Linked DNA regions of Homo sapiens: region 1 is linked to region 2. Evidence: promoter capture Hi-C in 16 types of primary human blood cells and fetal thymus (Javierre and others, 2016). All regions are on one chromosome and are shown on one strand. Each heading gives the region's core, a stretch centred on a gene start or on the middle of the fragment in contact. The rest is flanking DNA. Distances are from core to core; before and after follow the strand shown.

Evidence for each region. The method cuts DNA at HindIII sites, captures the fragments that hold promoters and counts their contacts. A CHiCAGO score of 5 or more calls a contact.
Region 1: a contact is called between the fragment with the promoter of THEM5 here and a fragment that was not itself captured in region 2, in 1 of 17 cell types (erythroblasts). The highest score is 5.8, in erythroblasts.

What each region holds. Positions count from the first base shown.
Region 1 is chr1:151,850,794-151,856,414 of GRCh38, reverse strand. THEM5 (thioesterase superfamily member 5) reads left to right here and starts at 2,703. Exons shown (of 6, transcript NM_182578.4): 1 at 2,703-2,972; 2 at 3,956-4,157; 3 at 5,224-5,362. The coding sequence starts at 2,850. It overlaps C2CD4D-AS1 (C2CD4D and THEM5 antisense RNA 1), which reads right to left. Exons shown (of 4, transcript NR_152846.1): 4 at 4,880-5,621. The HindIII fragment of the contact is 9,012 bases long and covers 1-5,621 here.
Region 2 is chr1:151,314,167-151,319,269 of GRCh38, reverse strand. PI4KB (phosphatidylinositol 4-kinase beta) reads left to right here. Exons shown (of 12, transcript NM_001369623.2): 2 at 2,761-3,697. The coding sequence starts at 2,789. Among named protein-coding and RNA genes, the nearest start is that of PI4KB, 11 kb to the left of the region's middle. The HindIII fragment of the contact is 375 bases long and covers 2,596-2,970 here.

The DNA of each region.
Region 1 (5,621 bases), core at 1,454-3,953, 540 kb before region 2:
ACAGGCACAGGGTACCAGCTACAGCTATTGTGGTAAACTCAGGACCAGAGAGACAGATATGGAAAAACAGGACGATGTTTATTTTAAGGTAGGCATTGGCTCAGTGGATTCACATCCAAAAAGCTGAGCATTGAACAAAGACTGAGCAGGATTTTTATAAGCAGGCTTACAGAAGCAAAACAGGCAGTTAATCATATAATGACAGGTCACATAATCTATAGCATAACTGATGACTTGGCATAACTTGTGGCTTTGCATAGCTGGTGGCCTTGTAGCTGCGTGGAAAGAAAAAACAAGAACTGGCTAAATACAGACAGACATTTGTCCTTTTTTTTTTTTCCTTCACCCTTGCTCCAGACGGGGGATGTCTGGAGCCTATTCCTTTGGTTTCGACTTCTCGAAGAGCATTATCTTATAATTGTCTTTGAAGTGAGCTTGCTAGGCAGAGAAAAACTTGCTCTTCCTTTCTTTTTAACCTTTGCCTTGCCACATTCTGGGCCTTGGCTTTTACTTCTCAGACTAGGTCACTATGACCTTCTTATAGCCTTGTCTGTTACTTTTCTTGGAGTGAATGAATGTAGTACTTACTATCTTTTTTTAATTTCTGCCTCACAGCAACGGCTGCGGCCCAGGGCTGAAAATGAGTGCTGCCAGATATTCTCACTTATCTGGGGATGGCAACCAACTCAAATATCTTTGCTTAGACCCAGAGGCTGAATCAACCAAAAAAACTTCCAGCTGGGCGTGGTGCCTCATGCCTGTAATCCCAGCACTTTGGGACGCTGAGGCAGGCAGATCAGCCAAGGCCAGGAGTTTGAGACCAGCCTGGCCAACATGATGAAACCCCGTCTCTACTAAAAATATAAAAACTAGCCGGGCGTAGTAGCAAGCGCCTGTAATCCCAGCTACTTGGGAGGCTGAGGCAGGAGAATTGCTTGAGCCTGGGAGGCAGAGGTTGCAGTGAGCCGAGATGGTGCCACTGCACTCCTGGGCAATAAGAGTGAGACTCTGACAAAATAACAACAACAAAAAAAAATGGTTCCCCCAGTCCTTGAGGAAGTTTAATTCAAACCTTTGCAGGAGGTGAGGGGAAATATTTATATTCTAGTCTTCTTCTAGGGCAACCAAATACAGAGGGTGAACCAAATCTTTTAAATTTCCGCATTAAATCAGTTTCATCTTTTGGAACCTGCCAAAATGTCATAATCATCACAACTATTATTATCGTCATCATCACTGTTATGATTCCACCTTTGCACAGTTCTGATTTTTTTTTTTTTAAGACAAGGTCTCACTCGGCCTCCCAAAATGCTGAGATTACAGCCTTGAGCCACTGCGCGAGGACTGATCTTTAGAACATGCTTTTATTTTAGTCAATTTAAAACTGAGACTTTTAATTGAAAATTGGCAGTTTAAATTCAATAGAAGACACACCACCACCAAATCCCACTGCCTTGCAGATGTTGGCTGAGTGTCCCTTCCCACTCAACAAAGCCTCACTGCCGCGCCCACCTCACTCCCAGCACTGCCTGCTGACATGAGCCACTCCCTGGGCACGGGGTTCCCAAAACATGAGAGTATCCCTGCCAAGCTGTTTCCTCCCAAATTATTTTCTGCCCTCCCTGTCAAGCCCTCCCCCACCTCCAACTCCTATCCCCAGCCAGAGACCAGCAGGTGAAACTCTCCTGTGCTAACCCTTGTCCGGGATATAAGAAGAGGTGTTGGCCGGGTGCGGTGGCTCACGCCTGTAATCCCAGCACTTTGGGAGGTCACCTGAGGTCAGGAGTTCAAGACCAGCCTGGCTAACATGGCAAAACCCCATCTCTACTAAAAAAAATATACAAAATTTAGCTGGGTGTGGTGGTGTGTGTCTGTAATCCCAGCTACTCAGGAGGCTGAGGCAGGAGAATCACTTGAACCCAGGAGGCGGAGGTTGCAGTGAGCCGAGATCACGCCATTGCACACCAGCCTGGGCGACAAGATTGAAACTCCGTCTCACCAAAAAAAAAAAAAAAAAAAAAAAAGAGGTGTCTAAGGCTGTGAGTTGGTTTTCTTTTTTTTTATTTTTTTATTTTTATTTTTTTGAGACGGAGTCTCGCTCAGTCGCCCAGGCTGGAGTGCGGTGGCTAGATCTCAGCTCACTGCAAGCTCCACCTCCCAGGTTCACGCCATTCTCCTGCCTCAGCCCCCTGCGTAGCTGGGACTACCGGCACCCGCCACCACGCCCGGCTAATTTTTTGTATTTTTTTTAGTAGAGACGGGGTTTCACCGTGTTAGCCAGGATGGTCTCGATCTCCTAACCTCGTAATCCGCCGCCTCGGCCTCCCAAAGTGCTGGGATTACAGGCGTGAGCCACCGCACCCGGCCTGTGAGTTGGTTTTCTGAGTCACAAAATCATACCAGAGTTTTCAGAGTCCGGTATACACTGCAGAGCACATACCAAGAACACTCCACCAGCACCCTCCAATCAAGGGACAGGCTTCCCTTATCCTTCTGGAAATATTCTTGGATTCTCCCTCAGAACCCCCAGGCAGCTCTCCAAGGCTCTATATACCCCATACTATTTGTTTATGTACTTGTTTACTCCTTTTGCAACTCAAGCCAGTCCTGCTGCCTTTTCATGCCCAAGCAGCATCTGTCCCTCCCCAAGCACTGGGTGGGGCTCCTAGACCAGCTAAAGGCGCCGAGCATCTGTGGGTGTTGCAGCACACCAGCCCAGCCTCGCCTAGCTCTCTGAAAGAAAGCCTGCAACAGAAGGGAGAGAAGCGGCCCCAAGTGCAGCTGAAAGCACTCCTTGGGAGTCAGCCAAGACCCTCCATCCAAGCAGGGCTGGATCCTTGCACTTGGCCATGATAAGGAGATGCTTCCAGGTGGCAGCAAGACTTGGCCACCACAGAGGCCTTCTTGAGGCCCCCCGTATCCTGCCCAGACTCAACCCTGCCTCAGCATTTGGATCCTCCACAGACTCCATGGTGAGTTCCCAGCTCAGCCAGATGGGCAGTGTTTTCCCAGGAGCCTAGGGCTTAAGGAGCACCCCAAATCTCCTCTTCCCAGCCCATGGCCAGGGCAGGTGGGCAGTGTTCGGAGGAGCTATTTGATTTGGCAAAGAGAAAGTGCTCTGGGATACCAAGTTGCCCCCATTCAAAACTAAAACTACCAGGAGACCTGCATCTGGCTCTGTGTCTTGTGTGGCCACCAACAAATGACTTTCCTCCTGTGGGACTCAGACTACTGCAGCAAAGCTGGGGTATCCCCAGACAGAGGACCCCATCTGTGGCATTGGCAAGCAGCTCACATGCTGTCTACAGTTGTGACTGGTGTATGAGCAGGTGACGCTACAGAGGACTTCCTTACGTCACACAGATGGGCACATAGTCTGTGCCCCAGCCATGGCACCACACCTCTGTGGGGGCCCAAATGTGTTTCAAAGGAGCCACCCTGCCCAGGCAGGCCCACAGCAGTGGGCAGAGCTGGAGTAGCCCCTGAGGTGGGGGTTGCTAGAATGGTCCTCAACAACTGTGACCCTGCCCTGCAGAGGAGACAGCATCTAGTGCGACCACCAGCTCTCACAGTCACATGCTTGGCAACCTTGGCCGTATTCCCTCAGTTTCCCCATCTGTACAGTGAGGCTAATATGAGCAGTTGTCAACTTTAAAGAACTGCTCACATGTTTTAAGCAGAACAAGGGTAAGGCACCACATCGAGCAGCATGCCCATCATCTCTGGCCCCACTCCCTGCCCGCCCTTCCCTTGCTCTTTAGCATCCTTATGCCCCGTCACCCATAGGGGTCCGCAGCCCCCCTGCAAGGAATATGGGCCCTTTCCCTTGGATCGATACTCTGGCAGAAGGGATTGAGAAGCCCCAGCACCCAGGAACAGCTGTTTAGAGGTCCCGAGCCCAGGCAGCAGCCCCCCTCCAGGATGCTGTCTAGTCATTCTGATTTTTCCTGCCCAGTTCTCAAGATTCTTGCCAGAGAAGACAGACTTGAAGGATTATGCTCTTCCCAATGCCAGCTGGTGTTCGGACATGCTGAGCCTGTACCAAGAATTTCTGGAGAAGACTAAGTCTAGCGGCTGGATCAAGCTGCCCTCCTTCAAGTCCAACAGAGACCACATCCGGGGACTCAAGCTCCCATCTGGACTGGCAGTTTCCTCAGGTAAGGACAGGACCATGAGTACACACACCCCAGCCGCCCTTCCCTGTGTTCTAAGACTGAGAAGCAACTTCACAGACCGCCTTCCAGTTCTCAGCGAGTTCTTCCTGCTGTCCAACTCCACCCCTGATGCTGCAGCCCCAGGCAACAGGCGGCGGGTGTCCTCTCAGGTCTCCAGCTCCCCTCCTCCCATCTGAAGCAGCACACCCTGGTGGGCCCACCTTCGCTCCCAGCCAAGCATGTCCCCACTGGAGGACAGCCAGCCCAGCTCCTGCCCCGACTTCTCACTGACTGCCCCTCCCTAACTATCAAGCCTCATCCCAAGCCTTCCGCCCCAACCCCATGAAAGCCCTTGGACCCCACACCCCTTCCACTGAGGCCCTGCACATCATCCCTGCTGTGCGGGGTCTGGAGCAGCACTCCTGAAACACCTAATGATCCTAATGGATCCTAATGATAGAGCTTCCACCTTCTTGTGTGTGTGTGTGCACTCGTGTGTGCACGCATGTGTATCTCCCTGTCTCTCTCACTCATATATGTTGTCTTCCTGCCTAGTGATGAAGGAGTGGTACAGGGGACAGACTACCCTTGGGTTTATGGCACAAACAAAGCAGGAATACCAACATAATTTTTTTTCAAAGAATTTGATACTTCCAAAAAAGGATGTAGTAGTGGTAGCTGTCTTGGAAAAAAAAAATCAGAACTTTGATGGACTTTTCTGCTCTTATTTTACTGTTTACTATTATTCTTTTGAATTATATGTGAGTTACATGAGTAATTACATTTTCAATTTTCAATGCTTATGGTCTCTTAAAGTCTTGCCCTGGCCCTGATCCTATCTCCATTCTCAGCCAGGGCACTTCCTGCATGTTTCTGCCCTAGACAGAAAGGCTCTGTGAGGACAGCAACTGTGCCTCTGCTCCCAGAGGGAAGGCTCCCTGGGGGTGGACCTGGTGTCCTCTGGTTTTCTCTCCTTAATCTTGTACCAGAGGCAAGACTCAACCAAATGGTGCTGCATCCTGACCATACCCTCCCTTCTCCGGCTGCAACACTGCCTATCTCTCCCCAGACAAAGGTGACTGTCGCATCTTCACCAGGTGCATCCAAGTGGAAGGACAAGGCTTTGAGTATGTCATCTTTTTCCAGCCAACCCAGAAGAAGTCGGTCTGTCTTTTCCAACCAGGCTCCTACCTGGAGGGGCCCCCAGGGTAAGGTCACTGGTAGGACCTTGGCTGCCTCCTGGGCTTGGCTCAGCAGGGCAGGTTCAGCACCCACCAGGCTGGCCCTGGAGTCTCTATCTTTCTCTAAGGGGTGAGGAAGGGAGTGTGGGGCACTAGGCTTCAGCCTCACAATACCAGGCCTGGAAGGACACACAGGGTTATCTGGCCTAATCCCCAGTGTGCAGATATGGGCTTCTCATCAAAGTCTCAAAATTTTCTGGACAAAAGACCTGAGAGGCCACTTTGA
Region 2 (5,103 bases), core at 1,534-4,033:
ACTGCTGACCTCAAAGTGATCCACCTGCCTCAGCCACCCAGTGCACTGGGATTACAGGCATGAGTCACTGTGCCCGGCCTCAACTAGCATATATTGAGTACTACTATGTATCAAAGACTGTGCTAGATTCTTTCATACACGTGATGGTATTTGTTCCACATAGCAACAATGAGAAGGAAGTGTTTTTTCCCAATTTGCAGTTGAGGATAAATGGCTTGCATAAGTTGCACATTTCTGAAAGGCTGAATGAGGATTTTCAACCCCAGCCTATTTGCCTTCAAGTCCAGAGCTCTTTCCATTATATGTTAGCAGCCACGGCACTGGAGAAAGAGGGTGTGATGTCATGATGTCAGACAACCAGAGAAACGGCACAGCTTCAGCAGGGTTGATGATGGTTGTTTTAGAGCTGCCTTCTTCTAAGTGAAGCCTGGCATGGTATTTACTGGCCTTTATTTTCTGGGAACTTCGAGTTTAAAAGGGAAGGTAAAAAAATACCTGTAACCAGAAAAATATATCAAGACTTTAATTTTATTTATTTATTTATTTATTTATTTATTTGAGACAGAGTTTCGCTCTGTTGCCCAGGCTGGAGTGCAGCGGTGCGATCTCGGCTCACCACAACCTCTGCCTCCCGGGTTCAAGCGATTCTCCTGCCTCAGCCTCCCAAGTAGCTGGGATTACAGGCATGCGCCACCACGCCCAGCTAATTTTGTATTTTTAGTAGAGACGAGGTTTCTCCATGTTGGTCAGGCTGGTCTCGAACTCCTGACCTCAGGTAATCCGCCTGCCTCAGCCTCCCAAAGTGCTGGGATTACAGGCGTGAGCCACCGCGCCCGGCCTTTTTTTTTTTTTTTGAGACAGAGTCTCACTCTGTCTCCAGGCTGGAGTGCAATGGCGTAATCTCGGCTCACTGCAACCTCCACCTCCCAGGTTCAAGCAATTCTCCGGCCTCAGCCTCCTGAGTAGCTGGGATTACAGGCGCCTGCCACCACGCCTGGCTAATTTTTGTATTTTTAGTAGAGACGGGGTTTCACCATGTTGGCCAGGATGGTCTCGATCTCTTGACCTCGTGATCTGCCCACCTCGGCCTCCCAAAGTGCTGGGATTACAGGCGTGAGCCACTGCGCCTAGCCAAGACTTTAATATTAAATAAAGATGGCTGGGCAAGGTGGTTCACACCTGTAATCCTAGTGCTTTGGGAGGCTGAGGCAGGAGAATTGCTTGAGGCCAGGCGTTCAAAGCTAGCCTGGGCAACACAGCAAGACGCCATCTGCACAAAAAAATTTTTTTTTAATTAGCTGAGCATGATGGCACACACCTAAAGTCCTAGCTACTCGGGAGGCTGAGGCAGGAGGATGCCTTGAGCCTAGGAGTTCAAGGTTACAGTGAGCTATGATCATGCCACTGCACTCCAGCCTGGGCAACAGAGCAAGACTTGTCTCTAAAAAATAAAAATAAAGGTGAGATGCACAGGACCTGTGTGTAGAATGTTATATGAGTAAGGAAATATAGTCTAAAGTGGAAAATAAAAAGGTTATAGCAGGCATTTAAAGGGAGACAGGAAGAGCAAGTGGATAGAAAAGTATTTGAAGAGTTAGGGAACAAGGGAGTAACACCTGACTTGCTTCTCAGTCTACCCGAAGAATCTGTAAATCACCAGGCATGGTGGCTCATGCCTGTAATTCCAACACTTTACGAGGCTGAGGAGGGAGGATTGCTTGAGCTCAGTTCAAGACCAGGCTGGGCAACATGGTGAGACCTTGTCTCTACAGAAAAATTTAAAAAATTAACCAGGCATGGAGGCACATGCGTGTAGTCCTGGATACTTGGGAAGCTGAGGTAGGAGGATTGCTTGAGCCCAGAAAATCAAGGCTACAGTGAGTTCTGATCGCGCCACTGCACTCCAGCCTGGGCAACAGAGCAAGACCCTGTCTCAAAAATAATAAGATTAAAAATTTAAAAATAAGCCAGGCATGGTGGTGTGCACCTGTGGTCCCAGCTACTTGGGAGGCTGAGGTGGGAGGCTTGCTTGAGCCCAGGAGGTCAAGGTTGCAATGAGCCCAGATTGTTCAACTGCACTTCAGCCTGGGTAACAGAGCAAGACCTTGTCTCAAAAAAAAAAAAAAAAAAGAATTTGTAAATGTAGGCCAGGTGCAGTGGCTCACGCCTGTAATCCCAGCACTTTGGGAGGCCGAGGTGGGTGGATCATGAGGTTGGGAGATGGAGACCATCCTGGCTAACATGGTGAAACCGTGTGTCTACTAAAAATACAAAACAAAATTAGCTGGACGTTGTGGTGGGCGCCTATAGTCCCAGCTACTTGGGAGGCTGAGGCAGGAGAATGGTGTGAACCCGGGAGGCGGAACTTACAGTGAGCTGAGATTGCGCCACTGCACTCCAGCCTGGGTGACAGAGCGAGACTCCGTCTCAACAACAACAACAACAACAACAACAAAAAGAATTTGTAAATCTATATAAATACAACATATACAAAACAACATTTCACATATATAAGCTAAGAACAGAGGCTAAGCTGAGTAACTACAGGAGGAATGACGAGTAATGTAATCAGAAGTGGAGGTAGTCAGGAAAGCTTCCTAGGATATGTCTTCTTATCTGATTTTGAAGGAGTCCAGGAAGACAAAAAGAGGAGGTGCCTGGGAAGGTGTCATAGCAAAGGGAAGATCTGAGGATGGCACCACTAACCAATGTGTGTATGTGTCTCCCTTTCTGTTCTTTTCTCCCTCCCTCTTCCTGTAGCTTGGAAGCTCGAAGTCTGGCTGTGGCCATGGGAGATACAGTAGTGGAGCCTGCCCCCTTGAAGCCAACTTCTGAGCCCACTTCTGGCCCACCAGGGAATAATGGGGGGTCCCTGCTAAGTGTCATCACGGAGGGGGTCGGGGAACTATCAGTGATTGACCCTGAGGTGGCCCAGAAGGCCTGCCAGGAGGTGTTGGAGAAAGTCAAGCTTTTGCATGGAGGCGTGGCAGTCTCTAGCAGAGGCACCCCACTGGAGTTGGTCAATGGGGATGGTGTGGACAGTGAGATCCGTTGCCTAGATGATCCACCTGCCCAGATCAGGGAGGAGGAAGATGAGATGGGGGCCGCTGTGGCCTCAGGCACAGCCAAAGGAGCAAGAAGACGGCGGCAGAACAACTCAGCTAAACAGTCTTGGCTGCTGAGGCTGTTTGAGTCAAAACTGTTTGACATCTCCATGGCCATTTCATACCTGTATAACTCCAAGGAGCCTGGAGTACAAGCCTACATTGGCAACCGGCTCTTCTGCTTTCGCAACGAGGACGTGGACTTCTATCTGCCCCAGTTGCTTAACATGTACATCCACATGGATGAGGACGTGGGTGATGCCATTAAGCCCTACATAGTCCACCGTTGCCGCCAGAGCATTAACTTTTCCCTCCAGTGTGCCCTGTTGCTTGGGGCCTATTCTTCAGACATGCACATTTCCACTCAACGACACTCCCGTGGGACCAAGCTACGGAAGCTGATCCTCTCAGATGAGCTAAAGCCAGCTCACAGGAAGAGGGAGCTGCCCTCCTTGAGCCCGGCCCCTGACACAGGGCTGTCTCCCTCCAAAAGGACTCACCAGCGCTCTAAGTCAGATGCCACTGCCAGCATAAGTCTCAGCAGCAACCTGAAACGAACAGCCAGCAACCCTAAAGTGGAGAATGAGGATGAGGTAAAATTCTGGGGAGGGCCAGAGACAAAAGGTGGTAGAGGGCTGCATGGAGACAGGATGCCTCCTATATACACACAGGGTTACGCTGTTCTTTCTGTCCTCCCTGTTTCATTTCACTGATAAAAGCATGGAATGTTAGAATGGAAAGGCCTTAGAATTCATGTATTTTGCCTGCCTTAGTTTACAAAGGAAGAACTCAGACCCAGAGAGATAAAGTGAGTTGCCTCAGGTCATATAGGTCATGGCAAGGCTGACGCTCCTGACTGTGTCCCAAATCATTTTTATTAAACTGCACTGGCCAGGCGCGGTGGCTCACGCTTGTAATCCCAGCACTTTGGGAGGCTGAGGCAGGCAGATCACGAGGTCAGGAGTTTGAGACCAGCCTGGCCAACATGGCAAAATCCCATCTCTACTAAAAATACAAAAATTAGCCAGGCGTGGTGGTGGGCGCGTGTAATCCCAGCTACTTGGGAGGCTGAGACAGGAGAATCACTTGAACCTGGGAGGCAGAGGTTGCAGTGACCAGAGATCGCGCCACTGCACTCCAGCTTGGGCGACAGAGTGAGACTCCGTCTCTAAATAAATAAATAAATAAATAAACTGCCATTCCATTAACATCTACTATGTTAATGAGAACTGTGGCAGAAGCCCTCCACACCCTGACCTGAGACTTGAGATAGCTACCAGAGCCTCTCAGAGCAGCATCTGTGGGAAAGGAAAAGGTACTATTGTCTTTCTGTGTGCTGGGGTAGGGGAGATGTTAGAACATCGGCTTCATTCTCCTGGCCACTCCTCCTCATAATCTAATCCCTTTTCACTACCCTCTGAAGATCCTACCTTTTGTTGACATAAGTGTAAGGTTTATTTCTTATCACTGAGGCATCTGGAGAATGCCTTCATTGCCTGCCTTTCCTTAGGGGGAAGAGTGCCTTGCTGGTATCTTTCCCATACCATTTGGGAGAAGCACAAAGGGAAGAGAAAGCACTCTTAGTATAGAGTAAATATAGTGCCTAGTCAAGGACCTGGAGGCTGGGAAGAAGAGGAAGCTACAGCAGCAGTTGGAGGTATAACTTAGGATATAGAGCAGGGAAGAGGTGGCCACATGAATAGGTTATACCCACTCTTCACTCCACATCTGGACAGATAGCAGGGAAAGCTGCCCAGTGGACTACCAAGTGTCAGTGACCTGGTGTCCCAGCCAGACAATGGTGCTCCAGTCCTCCCCTCTGACTCACCATTGGCCAGGCTCCCATCCTGGCTTCCAACCCAGCCTAGAAAAGAGGGAGAAAAAAAGGAGGAATTTGCACTTTTTGAAAAATGCGGATAGCTATGGTCTTGGCATCTGCCTCTGTGGGGCATATAACCCACCCACGTTTTTGATACAATGGGACTTCTTTCAAATAGAG